2 separate regions of the Homo sapiens genome follow, and region 1 is linked to region 2. Evidence: promoter capture Hi-C in 16 types of primary human blood cells and fetal thymus (Javierre and others, 2016). All regions are on one chromosome and are shown on one strand. The core of a region is centred on a gene start or on the middle of the fragment in contact, and the rest is flanking DNA. Distances in the headings are between cores, read along the strand shown.

Region 1 (7,506 bases), core at 2,011-4,510, 260 kb after region 2:
ATAAATTAAAATTCCAAAATCCATAAATCTAATGCTAAGAAGGATCACCAGCAAAATCAACTATTGGGATATATATATATATTTATTCCAGATGAAATATATAGCCTGACCAAGACTTTATGTATGTTTTGGATACTCAAAAAGATAATCGATGAGATAACATCCATTGAAAAGGAACAAGAAATCATGAAACAAAAGCAGGCTGAAATGAAGTAGGACAGTCGATACAACTAATCGGGAGTCTTGGGAATGAAAAATACAATAATTGAAACCAAAACTCAGCACACAGAATTAAACTATACACTGGACATAGATGAACAAAGAACTAGTGAACTGAAGAAGGTGATGAGAACTTCATCCAGCAAGCAGCACAGACAGATTTTTTTTTTTTAAGTGGAAGAGCAGTTAAAAGCCATGGTGAATAGATTGGGAATTTCCAACATCTGTCTAGTAGGATTTCCAAAGAAGAAAATGGAGGGAATGGTAGAGAAACTGGATTGCAAAGAATTGAAGGAAATCTCAAATCCTCAGCTTAAAAGTGTGTCACAACTGCCAAGCAGGATAAAGAAAGATAAATCTACTCTTCATTACATCATGCCATAACTGTGGGCATTCAGAGAAAACCTAAAAGCCACTAAGGGATAAGAAAGACAAATATACTGGGAAGGCACAGCAGTTTGACTGTTAGCAGATTTCTAACATATCAACCATTAATACCAGAAGACAGTAGAGAAATATTAAAGTGCTGAAAGAAAAATGACATTCAATCTAGAATTTTATACCGAGTTAAATATACTCAAGACTGTCGATGAAAGAAAGACATTTTTATTTAAAGACCAGGATAACTTACCACTCAGTGACCCTCATTTTGAAAAAAACTACTCAAGGATGTTCTTCAGGAGGAAGGAAATTGAACCCATAAGAATGGAGTGGGATACAGAAGGCAACGGTGAGCACAAAAATTGAAAAATATGACAGTAAATTTACTATTGACTATAAACACAAAAAAGTCATGAATGATTTAAAATTTTTTTAATTAAAAAATTTTATTAACGTGGAACTTAACTAGATGACAGTAATAATATGGAAGGGGAAAGCAGAGATGTTTAGTGAGTAATTTAAAATTATGGCAGTCCTTGTAATCTTCAGGAGTAGGAAAGGAATACTGAATATTCCTTTTCATGTATATTAAAAGGGTAACCACCAAAAGAAAACCAACTTGTTGCTCTCAAAGAACAGAGATCAAAGGGAGGCAGGGAGGAATCTAGACCACTTTATAAATCCAGCGAATGGCAGAAAAAAGGAAGAGAAAGGAGGAGAGAAATAGGTCAGTAATAACAAGTATAGACTGATTTAATATACCTAATAAGACTTTATCAGATTGGATTTTTAAAACTCCAGCTATATTTGTTAATTTAAATGAAACAAATATAGAAACCTTTTGGTTAACTAAAGAATTCAAAAGTTTTATTCTACTTCATGTGTAAGAAAATCCCAAAGCTCTTCTTGCTTAACAAAGAACCTTCCCAAGGTTACCTACTTTTAGAATGCAGAGGTGTCAGTTTAATATTATCAGGGCAAAAAAGTTACAAAATAAAACAACCAGTAAGAGTTGTGTATTTTTAAGAGTTACAGGTCCACATTTCTCAGGACATGACAGCTATTTCAAAACTCTGGATGTCTTAATTGATATATATATATATATTTTTTTTTGAGACGGAGTTTTGCTCTGTCGCCCAGGCTGGAGTGCAATGGCGTGGTCTTGGCTCACTGCAACCTCTGCCACCTGGGTTTAAGCGATTCTCCTGCCTCCACCTCCCGAACAAATAGCATTTCTAAAGACATTTTAGTAATGAAAAACAGCAGGATTAAACATTTTCAGAGAAATCTCCACATTGGAATATGGGATTGATGCTTTTATATCATTCTCCATTCACTTTGTCACACTTGGCTTTCTAATAGTATCTCTCCTTTTCTGATTCTTTGTGAACTTGCTTTCACCAGCAGTTAGAACATGAACTTTCAGGATTAAGCACTGAAATTTCATTAATTAATATCACATCACGAGGAAGGTAAAAACAGCTTTGAGAAGCTTAAAACTTACCATAGGAGTAAGAAAAAGGCACAAAATTGTACCAAAGAGAATGTGAGGCATGTAATGTTTTGCATCTTCATTTCCCTTTGTTGCCCCTTAAGCAACAACTTTGTCTTAAATTTACAGTCCTCTTTGTACATTCTTCATATTTTTTGGTGTATTTTTAGTTTTTACTACTTAATATACAAGTGAAAATATTTGTAATGCATTACGTGTATCATGGAAAATATGCAACATTTTATAAGCTTTACTGCTGCACTGAAAGAAGCCTTCCAGCATCTCTGTACCTTACATGGTGTTTTGATACTAGGATTCCCAAAAAGGCCTTCACACCTAAATATATGCCAGTTTTGGGCCTGATGTTACTTTCAACTTTTGATATAGATTTGGTAAGTCATGAGAAAGGTCTGGATTTTTCAGGGATATGGGTGCCATATTCCTTGCCAGTAAGAGCTAGCTAAAGTGAAATCTAAAGCTATGATTATTTGGAGCATAACTCTTTAGCCTATCATTTCACTGGTGAGCAGGTTTAGAAAAGTGCTTGTCATTACAAGGTTAGATCTTTCATCTCTGTAATAGAGCCGTGACCCCATCCAATGGGAATATTATCCAGAAGCATTGTGTTTTGTTACATGAATCTGGTCAGACTTTTCCTTAGGGATAGTCCGGAAACAATGCTTGGCAAGGATGATACAAACTTTTTTTTTTTTTTTGAGACACTTTTTTTTTGGCCCACTGTAACTTCCACCTCCTGGGTTCAAGCGATTCTCGTGCCTCAGCCTCCCAAGTAGCTGGGATTACAGGCGCCCAACACCACGCCTGGCCAATTTTTGTATTTTTAATAGAGACAGGTTTTTTGCCATGTTGGCCAGGCTGGTCTCGAACTCGCAGCCTCAGGTGATCTGCCTGCCTCAGCCTTCCAAAGTGCAGGGATTACAGGCGTGAGCCACCACGCCCAGCCAGATGATATAAACTTTATAGTTGGAGATAGGCCAGTCATGTGGCAACTACAGGTAGGTAGAGGTTCTACAAATAAAATGGGTGTCTTTGTAAATTATTGTGTCTTCCTTCTTAAAGAAAGAAGTTTCCCCTAGAAACAAAGTGCCACATTTTTGTACTACCTGGAGTGTGATTCTGAATACTAGTGCCCAACAGTATAGTTCCCTTTTTAGCAGAGCAAAATAATCCAGGGTTACTACTTGCTAAATGTAGTGCTGATACACCTGGGTTGCTTATTTTCTAATGCAGTGGAAAAGTATCTGTTCTTTAAGGTTAGTCCAGGATCATACTCAGAAATGTTAAGGGAGGATTTTACCTCTAATTGTTCAACTTATACCAAATAAAAGGCACTGGTATTGTAGGGATTCCTCCCTCTGTACTATGTAGCATGTAAAAGCAGAACAACATTTCAAAATGTTTAAGTACCATGAGTATTACCATGATGGTTAAAGGAATATATTTTTGGATCTTTTAAGTTCTCACAGAAAAGAGTATAATAACACTAATTAGATATAGGCTTTAGGGTTACCCAGTCCTTCAGAATAATACACTTCTCACTTTCCATCTGAGACTCAATGACCAAAATGATCAGATGGAATACTCAGTGGCTAGCAGTTACCAGGGTGAGGTTACCCACAGTTATGTACTGTTGACCCTAGTGTGGTCATTAGGCCATTCATTTTCATGGAGAAAAGAAAATTCACAATTTTGCTTGGTCTCTGCATTGTGTGAAGAGGCCTCTAGTTAGGACTTTTGGTCATTTTTTAAAAAAAAGTTCCTGGCAGTAAGAAACTATCCATATAGTCATTCTGCCTTAAATGTTTTGTACTTTTTATGTCCATTTGAGAGGTTGAATCTTTATGTAGTAACGGCTAAGGTGGGTCTCTTATAAGATATACTATAGCCTAGCTAGGAGCAAATGAAGGCAGAAGCAAGACCCTCCTGTTAACAAGTGGGCAGGCTAACCACTATGCTACAATTTTTTTTTTTATCTCATTAGTTGTTCTCGGCATGGGAGGCTTTTAGATAGCTCTGGAACAGGGTTGCACAGCAGGAGGTGAGCAGTGGGCAAGCAAGCGAAGCTTCATCTGTATTTACAGCTGCTCTCCATCACTCATATTACCACCTGAGCTCCGTCTCCTATCAGATCAGCAGCAGCATTAGATTCTCATAGGAACATGAACCCTATTGTAAACTGATCATGAGGGATCTAGGTTGTGTGCTCCTTATGAGAATCTAATGCCTGATGATCTGTCACTGTCTCCCACCAACCCCAGATGGGACCTTCTAGTTGCAGGTAAACAAGCTCAGGGCTTCCACTGATTCTACATTATGGTGAGTTGTATATGTATTTCATTATATATTACAATATATTAATAATAGAAATGAAGTACACAATAAATGTAATGCACTTGAATCATCCCAAAACCATTCCCTCTACCCCATAACCCCTGGTCTGTGGAAAAATTGTCTTCCATGAAACCAGTCCCTGGTGCCAAAAAGGTTGGGGATCCCTGCTTTAGAAGTCTTTTGCTGACAGTCATGTCAGTCTTAGCATATGGGTGTGCTTTCACTCGTCCTGTAAAGGTAAATACTATAGCCAAAACCTTTTCATATGATTGTAAAATTGACTTGTAATGGTCTTCAGGGCGGAAAGCATGAACTACCCTCTGTTTTGACATTTTTGAACTCTGGTCCTGACAGATAGAACAGTTCTTTAAATATCATTGAGCATATTACAAAACTTAGAGCATACTCTGCCATTGTTATTTTTAGAATAACCTCTGTGTGTGAGTCAAGCCATGGTTATACAAGCAAGATAAGAAAGTAAAGTGATTGATGCTACCAAGTAGCAGCCCTCTAGGAAAGACCAAAGACAGGGTGCAGAAGATGTACTGCCAAAGTAGGCTCTGAATTTGGAGCCTAATCTTGAAGAGAGGCAAAGTCTGAAAGGCTTAGCAGAGGAGACTAGTTATTTGATAAGATAAAGAGCAGAGATAGAATAAGAAGTCACCCAACCTTCTTATTAGCCAAAGTAATAGAAATTAATACTGACTATAACAGAAAGACCATTACAAATTTTAGATCCTCTAGAAATGAGAACTCTCATTATTTTTACAACAGTGTATAGTCATGATTACACAAAAGCATAACAAAGTCATATTTTAAATGTTAATAGACCTTTGAAAAGAAAATGTTCTCTGATGAGGACAATAATTTTGGACTCCTGGACAGACTCTGTAGAGGGCAAAAAATTATTACCTGGTTATAAATGGACTTCATACCCAGAGGAAAAAAAAATTTTTTCTCTGTGTTAATTGGGCTCCCTCCTCTATTATATACAAGTGTTTATTAGTTTTCAGTATACTTTGATATGCATGTTTTAATAGATCAGTGTTTAATAACAGTATTATTTAAAACTTTGGTTTTTAAAACAATTCTATCATGTTTAATATGTAAACATTAACTGATTTATTTCATCCTGAGTGTTATGAAGAACAAACATGTTAAGGTATAGTCAGAGATACATAGGTTTAAAAACATATGAATCAGGCCAGGCACAATGGCTCACGCCTGTGTCCCAGCACTCTGGGAGGCCGAGGCAGACAGATCACTTGAGGTCAGGTGTTTGAGACCAGCCTGGCCAACACAGCGAAACTCTGTCTGTACTAAAAATACAAAAAATTAGCCGGGCGTGGTGGCAGGTGCCTATGATCCCAGCTACTCGGGAGGCTGAGGTAGGAGAATTGCGTAAACCTAGGAGGCAGAGGTTGCAGTGAGCTGAGATCACACCACTGCACTCCATCCTGGGCAACAGAGCGAGACTCTGTCTCAAAAAATAAATAAATAAAATAAATAAAAGTATCGTATGTTAGGGACTTTTTATGTTTTCTGTGTCTGAATTTTAACTTTTTGTAGAAATTTTTTCAATACTCTGTAATCCTATAGAATATTAAAACTTTACCGGATAGCGTAAGAATATTCTGTAAATTCATATAATTTTCAGTATTGTCTGAGATTTATGAAAACCAATATATAAACACTGGCTGTTTAATCACAGCTTGATTTAGTTGTTCACCCATGTTTATGTGTAAATAATCCTGAGTTAATAATAGAGGTAACAACAAAATAACCAATGTTAATTAGAAAGTTTCATTTTAGCCTTTTAAAGGTAGAAAAGTCTTATGTTTATTAAAATTCTATATTTGTATCTTTTTTCTACCTTGTGGTTTAATCAAAGAAAAGTCATAAAGTCATCTTTTAAACTGAAAACTTTCAAACAGTACTAATGTAAAACATTAAAGAGTTTGTTTTACATTGACTATGAGTATTAAGGAAAATGAAATTTAAATTTTTGATATTTATTTTATTGAGGAATACTGTAGCCTTCTAAGTCTACTTCACAGTACAGTCATGCACCCCATAATGGCACCACATAACAACCACATAACTGGTCAACAGTGGACCCCATGTACAACAGTGGTTCTGTAAGATTATAGATTATATAATACTGTGTTTTTACTTTGCCTTTTCTATGTTTAGATACACAAATCCTTAACCATTGTGTTACAGTTGCTTACAGTATTCAGTGCAGTAACATGCTCTACAGGTTCGTAGCCCAGGAGCCATAGGCTGTACCATATAGCCTAGTTGTGTAGTAGGCAATACTATTGTTAAGTACACTCTATGATATTCACACAATGGGGAAATTGCCTAATGACACCTTTCTTAGAATGTATCCCTGTAGGTAAGCAACACATTATTAGTACAGAAAGTTGCTTAAAACTTTTTAATTTGAGACTGTATCTTCAGGTTACCTTTTTACTAAATAAAAGGATTGAGACTTGATAGCTCCTGCCTTCAGTGGGCATCTCCTTTTATCTTATAACTCAGCAGGGACACTGAGAGACCTTTAAGCTAAAATTAGATTTTTCATTTTTTTAAGAACTTTTTTTTGAAAGACAGTTTGAAAAGAATTATTAGAAAGTAGAGCTGGGTGCAGTGGCTCACACCTGTAATCCCAGCACCTTGGGAGGCCAAGGTGGGCAAATCACTTGAGGTCAGGAGTTTGAGAACCAGCCTGGCCAACATGGTGAAACCCCATCTCCACAAAATACAAAAATTATCCAGGCGTGGTGGTGCGTGCCTGTAATCCCAGCTGCCCTAGAGGCGGAGGCATGGGGATCCATTGAACCTGGGAGGCAGAGGTTGCGGTGAGCCAAGATTGCACCGCTGCACTCTAGCCTGGGCAACAGAGTGAGACTCCATCTCAAAAAGAAAAAAAAAGGAATACTATTTAAATTTATAATTTAGTTGTTTTTATACAATTGTTTACACATTCTTTTTCTCAGAAACCAAATGTTTTCTATTTCAATTGAGTAAGTTATATGGAAGGTACTATTCCAGGTAGA
Region 2 (6,718 bases), core at 3,880-6,379:
GTCTGGCAGTGGAAGCTCTGCTGGGTCCTCCCAGTAGAGGATTCACGTGGTTTCTTCCTCCTCTTTCTTATTATGACCTATGTGTGTTACATGTATTTGCATAGTTATTGGTGTATGAAAGCCTTGCAATAAACCTTTGAAAGCATTTAATTAGCCATTATTGAGTCATTGTGAAACCTCCCACAGTGTTAAAGTAAGCACAGCTAGGCTGACTGGAACCTGACATGATAACATGGATACATGTAGTGACACAGTGCAGGAAATAGGATGTTTTCAGAGGCAGAACACGAGGCACAAAGCCTCATAGATGGGAATAAGCCCATGACGTGTGGGGAGACACTAAATAGCCTGGCTGACAGGGAGCAAAAGATGCTGCATAAGGAGGGAAGAGACAGGAATGGGAAGGAGGTAGTGGTAACCATGAACGTTGCTGGAATATTCTGGCGGCCAGCTGGAGAGGAAGCTTAGGGAGTGTCAGAGATCAAGTGCAGTGATCCCAGCAGGCAGCACAAATGGACTGTGGCTCTCTCTCCTCCAGTATTCTGCCTTGCCTTGATCTCCCTGGACTCTCAGCTTCTCTTCTACCCAAGGTGCCCATCAGGCTCTGCCCAAGTTCCTTTTATCACAGGCTGGAAACTCTCTCAAGGCAGAAAGCTGGAGAAACTACAGCGTTCAGCTTGTTTGTTTCCCATCTCTCATCTGTCCTTCGTGGCTGCTCTGGCTGCTGTGTGTTGGAGCCTGGAGTGGAGAAGGTGCCAAGGTGGGCGTGGGGAGGCCCTTTGGAAGGTTAGTGCAGCAGCTCAGATGGGCTATGATGGCCTCTACATGGGGGATGCAGTGGAGATGGAGAGACAGAGAAGTTTGAGATGTATTTCTAAGGTAGAAGCAGGGCTTGGTGAGGATGTAGAGTTGAGGGAGAGGGAGGAGTCAAGGGTGATTGGGCTTTTTCATCAGTATAAAGGTGATACTAGCATGGGGCTGGGGTGAGGGGAAGATGAGATGATGCTTCCTCCAGATTCTGAAACTTTAGTCTGAATGCAAGGCCTGGCTGCTGCTTCTGGGGGTGGGGAAGCTTGCCTGTGACCTGGAGGACCTGCAGGCCATCTTTGAGTTCAAAGCATCTTCAGCTCCATGGCTCAGTCCTTTCCAATCACATTCTTCTCTTCTTTCCTTTTCCCTTCTTTTCTCCCTGATCCCCAGCTCAATTCTCAATTCCTCCCAGAGCTCTTGACCAGAGAAATCCTGATCAGCTGATGATCTGCATGTGACCATGACCTTCCGTCTTCATATCCTCCAGAGTGGGGCTCAGAGGAGGCTCCACACTGAGGACCTGTGGGGCCCAACTCACTCTGTGCTGAAGGTGACAGGGTGGGGGGAGGAAGGCACTCATCCAGGATTCCTTCTTTTTTTAGAGATGGGTTTCACTCTGTTGCCCAGGCTGGAGTACAGTGGCATGATCCTAGCTCACTGCAGCCTCAAACTCTTGGGCCTAAGCAATCCTCCTGCCTCAGCCTGATGAGTAGCTGGGACTACAGATGCATGCCACCACACCCAGCTGATTTTTAAATTTTTTGTCTCACTATGTTGCCCAGGCTGGTCTTGAATTCATGGCCTCAAGTGACCTTCCTTCCCTGGCTTCCCAAAGCCCCGGGATGAGCCACCGCACCTGGTCCCAGGACTGTTCCTTAAAATTATCCTTAGAAAAGTTGCTAAGCCTGTTTTCTCATCAGTAGATCTATGAATCTGGCTCATTATCACAGCTGACATCATAGCCTTAGGGGTTTCTTGTTTGTTTTTTACCTTATCATTCTTCTGTTTGAATTTTTTTATTGTAGTCAAATATATATATTTATCATCTTAGCTATTTTTCAGTGTATAGTTCAGTGGCTTTAAGTATATTCACATTGTTGTGCAACCATCACCACCATCCATCTCCAGAATTCTTTTCATCCTGCCAAATGGAATCTTTGTGCCTGTGAAACAACTCCCCATCCCCCCCCCGGCAACCACCATTCTACTTTCTATCCCTATGCATTTTACTCTCTCTCTCTCTCTCTTTTTTTTTTTTTTTTTTTGAGATGGAGTCTCACTCTGTCGCCCAGGCTGGAGTGCAGTGGCGCGATCTCGGCTCACTGCAACCTCTGCCTCCGGGTTCAAGCGATTCTTCCACCTCAGCCTCCCAAGTAGGTGGGACTACAGGTGCCAGCCACCATGCCTGGCTAATTTTCGTATATTTAGTAGAGACAGGGGTTTCAGTATGTTGGCGAGGCTGGTCTCAAACTCCCGACCTCGTGATTGACCTGCCTTGGCCTCCCAAACTGCTGGGATTACAGGCGTGAGCCACCACGTCTGGCGGCATTTTACTCTCTTTTATAAGTAGAATCATATTGGTCCTTTTGTGACTGGCTTATTTCACAAAGCATAATGCCTCAAGTTTTATCCGTGTTGTAGCATGTGTTAGAATTTCCTCCCTTTTAAAGACTGAATCATATTCCACTGTATGGCTATACCATATTTTGTTTATCCATTCATTCAACAGTGAACACTAGGTTGTTCCACCTTTTGGCTATTGTGAGTAATGTTGCTATGAGCCTGGATGTACATCTATTTGTTACCCTGCTTTCACCTCTTTTGGGTCCCAGAAATAGAATTCCTGGACTATATGGTAATTGTGTGTTTAATTTTTGGAGAAATCACCATACTGTTTTCCATAGTGGCTGTACCATTTTACATTCCCACCAGCAATGCACAAAAGTTCTAATTTCTCCGCATCCTCGCCAACACTTATTTTGTTTTGTTTTTTTTTTTAAATAGCCATCTTACTGGGTATGAAGTAGTAGCTCATTGCGGTTGATTCAAATTTCCCTGACAATTAGTGATTGAATATCCTTCATGTACTTATTGGCCATTATATGTCTTCTGTGGAGAAATGTCCATGTCAGTCCTTGGTTCATTTTCAAATTGGGTTGCCTGTTTTGTTGTTGTTGCTGAGGTGCAGGAATCCTTTATATATCCTGGATATTAATCCTGTATCAGATATAGGGCTTTTGCACATATTTTCTCCTATTCTGTGGGTTGGCTTTCCACTCTGTTTATACTGGCCTTTGAGGCACAAAAGTCTGATGAAGTACAATTTATCTATATTTTTTCTTTTGCTGCCTGTACTTTTGGTGTCATATTCATAATTTGGGTTTTAAAAACGATTTTTTTTTTTCGGCAGGGCGTGGTGGCTCACGCCTGTAATCCCAGCTCTTTGTGAGGCTGATGCCTGCGGATCGCTTGAGGTACGGTTTGCGAGCAGCCTGGCCACCATGGTGAAACCCCGTCTCTACTAAAAATACAAAAATTAGCTGGGCTTGGTGGCCCACCCCTGTAGTCCCAGCTACTTGGGAGGCTGAGGTGGGAGAATTGCTTGAATTCAGGAGGCAGAGGTTGTAGTGAGCCAAGATTGTGCCTGGGCGACAGAGTGAGATTCCGTCTCAAAAAAAAAAAAAAAAAAAAAGAAAGAAAGAAAAAAAAGAAAGCCGGGCGCGGTGGCTCACGCCTGTAACCCCAACACTTTGGGAGGCAGAGGTGGGCGGATCACGAGGTCAGGAGTTCGAGACCAGCCTGGCCAACATAGTGAAACCCCGTCTCTACTAAAAACACAAAAAAATTAGCTGGGCCTGGTGGCACACGCATGTAATCCCAGCTACTCGGGAGGCCGAGGCAGGAGAATCGCTTGAACCCGGGAGGTGGAGGTTGCAGTGAGCCGAGGTCACGCCATTGGTTAGTAAACTCCGGGCTGAAAATTCATATCCTAAGCTCCCTTCAGGGATCCCCATTTGCCCTGAAAGACAAGGCTGGTGCCCCAGTGAGATCTGAAACATGCTCCAGGACCAGGACCCTGTAGTTTCATCAACTGCAGACAGTGCGGGGGAAAAAGCATTTCGGTCTTTTCATTTGTTCGTCATGTTCAAGGTGCCCCCTTATGTTAAAAAATTAAAAAAAAAAAAAAAGAAAGAAAAAAGAAATCTCCTGGAACGGAGAATCTATGAAATGTTTCAATATGTATTCATTTTGGGGCACTACCTTTTACTAGAGCAAAGAATCCCCTACTTAGAGGGAACCAATGGATTGGTTACACCGTGTTACCAAGTCCTCAGGAGGGCAAACTGAAAAGCTGCAAGCACTGCCCGGCCAGTGTTCGATTGCTTTTGGTGGACTAGTGCGTCTGAGTAGCCATCTGTAATGTCAACATGTGGCAGAAAGTTTCTCCGCACCTCCCTCGCCCCAGCTCCACTCACCACTTAGTGTATGTTTTAAAGCAATAAAGCGATGGGTCTGCTTAGAGGGGGTTCTAAAGAGAAAGATAAACACGGGCTTTATTAAGTATACAGCAGGGCAATGTGACGGGCGACCACGAAGGGAACTCAGGGAGCCTCTCAGCAGCCCGGCCTCCTTTCGTAACAAAACTGGAGTCAACCCGATCATTTTAGGGGCGCTGGGTGGAAGGCTGGCTTTTCCAGCCAAGGCAGGATGTGCTGGCTTTTTCTCTGGAGGTGTCCAAGAGCGCAGAGAGAGTGTCTAATGGTGACTTCGGATTCTGGCCACTCGGGCTCTCCCTGGGTGACAGAGAGAGTGTTCCCTGCTGCTTGGTCTCCTTCAGGCGTCAACCAGCGCACGCACTTGGAAACTCTGAACCCGGAGGACGTTCTGTACCTCTCCATGCCCCAGAGCCGTTTGGGGAAGGGCCCACCTTACCCCCCGCCACCCCCGGGGCACAGCAGCTCCCCATCCTCTCGCCCAACACTTGCTAGGTAGTTTGGGGTGTAGAAGCGACCCCAGCAGCAGCGGCACCTTAGGTGCTCGCCGAAGGTGAACGCTGGACCGCCCCGGGAAGGGCTTTGCTCCCGACTTCATCCCGACGCTGGTGCAACGGGAAAAAGAGAGAGCCCGCGCGAGTGGGGCCAGGGCGCGCAGGAGAGGGCGGGCGAGAAAGTGCCCGGCGAGGGCAGGCGCGGGCCGAGGGCGGGGCGGGCGCGGGAGGGCGCGAGAGGGGCGTGGGCGCGGCCGCTCGCTCGGCCGGGTCGGGCCAGGGGGAGGGGCGCTGGGAGAGCGAGAGCGGCGCGCGCGGCAGCCCCGAGGCAGCAGAGCGCGGAGCCGGGAGCGCGGGGAGCGCGGGCCGGCGGCGGCGAGGGAGGACGGGGGCGCAGACGGCCGGCGCGCGGCGCGGCTACCATGGGCGTGCGGTGAGCAGCCGCTCGGGACGACTTCCTCGGCTGCGCGGCGCTCGCGCGGAGCTCCCCGGCCGGCGGTGCGTCCCCACGGTCACCATGAAAGGTAGGGCGGCGGCAGCTCCGCGGGGCTCTGGGCGGGGGGAACGGGCTTCGGGGCGCGCGGGAGGCCACGGAGGTGCCTCCCGCGCGAACCTTCCCTTGGGCTGCGGGCCCGGGGAGTCGGGGCTGCCAGGGCGCCGGGTTCGTGCGCGGACACTGGGGGCGCACCCGGCTCCCGGGTCAGGCGCGGCTGGAGACCTCGAGGTTGGGGTTTTGAAGCGCGCAAGTATTCCCCTCCCCATCGCGTCTTTGCAAGTAGTTTGAAGCCCTAAGTCGTTGTTTACGGATTCCCGTTTCCAACTTTTTAATTGAAAAAACCTGCCGAGGAGAGTGGAGGCATCGCCATCCCTCCCGGTCGCTTTTCCACGCCGCAGCGCTCCCCACGCTCGCCCAGTCCTCTCTCCTCCCGCCTCTAGCCGTTTCCCGGCCCGAGCGGTCCCCGCGCTGGCGGCCGGGTGTTTTCTCCGGGACTGGGGATGTTCTCCGTGCGCCCTCGCCACATCTGGCAATGATTAGGTGCCCGAGGAGTTCAGCTGGCTCGGGAAGTGCATTTGGCATCTTTCTCCATCAGATTCACCGACTGGAAAATAGTTGCCCTCGGTTCCGCGTCCCTTCCACGTGCCCGCCTTGGGGTGTGCCCACTGGTGTTTTGGGGTGACACACCTCAGCTGGTTAGTCGCCCCCTGCGCGGTGTCCTCTGCAGGCCGGTTTATGGAAGTGTCAGATGTTATCGTACTTTAGAAAGAAGCACGAGAAGGACTGCAGGGCAGCCTTCTGTTTAGTGGAAACACGGAGATTTGTCAGCGGAATCCTGATTTATGTATGAGATAAGTAACCGCAGCGGAGGCATCAAAGAGTCGTTCAGGAATGGGCCCGCGTGGTGTTTACACAAGGCTTCGTGTGAGAGTTGCTGGTTCTGTGCTAGGATAACACAGCCCTGCGTGGGTGCGAAATGCCATCTGACCGCGGTCACCCCGCTTCCAGCCGCCACAGACCTGGCGATGCAATCGCTTTGACTTCTAGGGTTGCCGTCCGAGGGAGGCGCCCGGGAAGCCCCAAGGCGCTTGGAAAGTAACTTTTGGCTCTGGAAAGTTTTTTTTCTGAAGGGCAGCTCCCGCGGAACTAACCGGAGCGATGATATCCTACCAATTCACTCCCTTTCCAAGGGCGTTAGGTGTCCACGTCGGGAGACCTCGGGAAGGGAGGTGACTGATGGCCAGGTGAAAAGTGGTCTGCCCCAGGGAAAAAGAAACAAAAGACACGATACAACTGCCTACCTAGAGAATTTCAAAATGCAGTGGCTTGCTTTCCTTCTGTCTCCATCTCAGTTTCTCTTCCCTCATTTACATTCTAGGAAATACACACATTCCTTAGCTGGCTCTGATTGAGGAGACTCCCTA

Evidence for each region. The method cuts DNA at HindIII sites, captures the fragments that hold promoters and counts their contacts. A CHiCAGO score of 5 or more calls a contact.
Region 1: a contact is called between a fragment that was not itself captured here and the fragment with the promoter of COLEC12 in region 2, in 2 of 17 cell types (M2 macrophages and monocytes). The highest score is 9.0, in M2 macrophages.

What each region holds. Positions count from the first base shown.
Region 1 is chr18:237,745-245,250 of GRCh38, reverse strand. All of the region lies in intron 11 of THOC1 (THO complex subunit 1), which reads left to right. Among named protein-coding and RNA genes, the nearest start is that of THOC1, 27 kb to the left of the region's middle. The HindIII fragment of the contact is 1,836 bases long and covers 2,343-4,178 here.
Region 2 is chr18:499,112-505,829 of GRCh38, reverse strand. COLEC12 (collectin subfamily member 12) reads left to right here and starts at 5,129. Exons shown (of 10, transcript NM_130386.3): 1 at 5,129-5,322. The coding sequence starts at 5,316. RefSeq lists a silencer at 1-18. The HindIII fragment of the contact is 13,067 bases long and covers 1,075-6,718 here.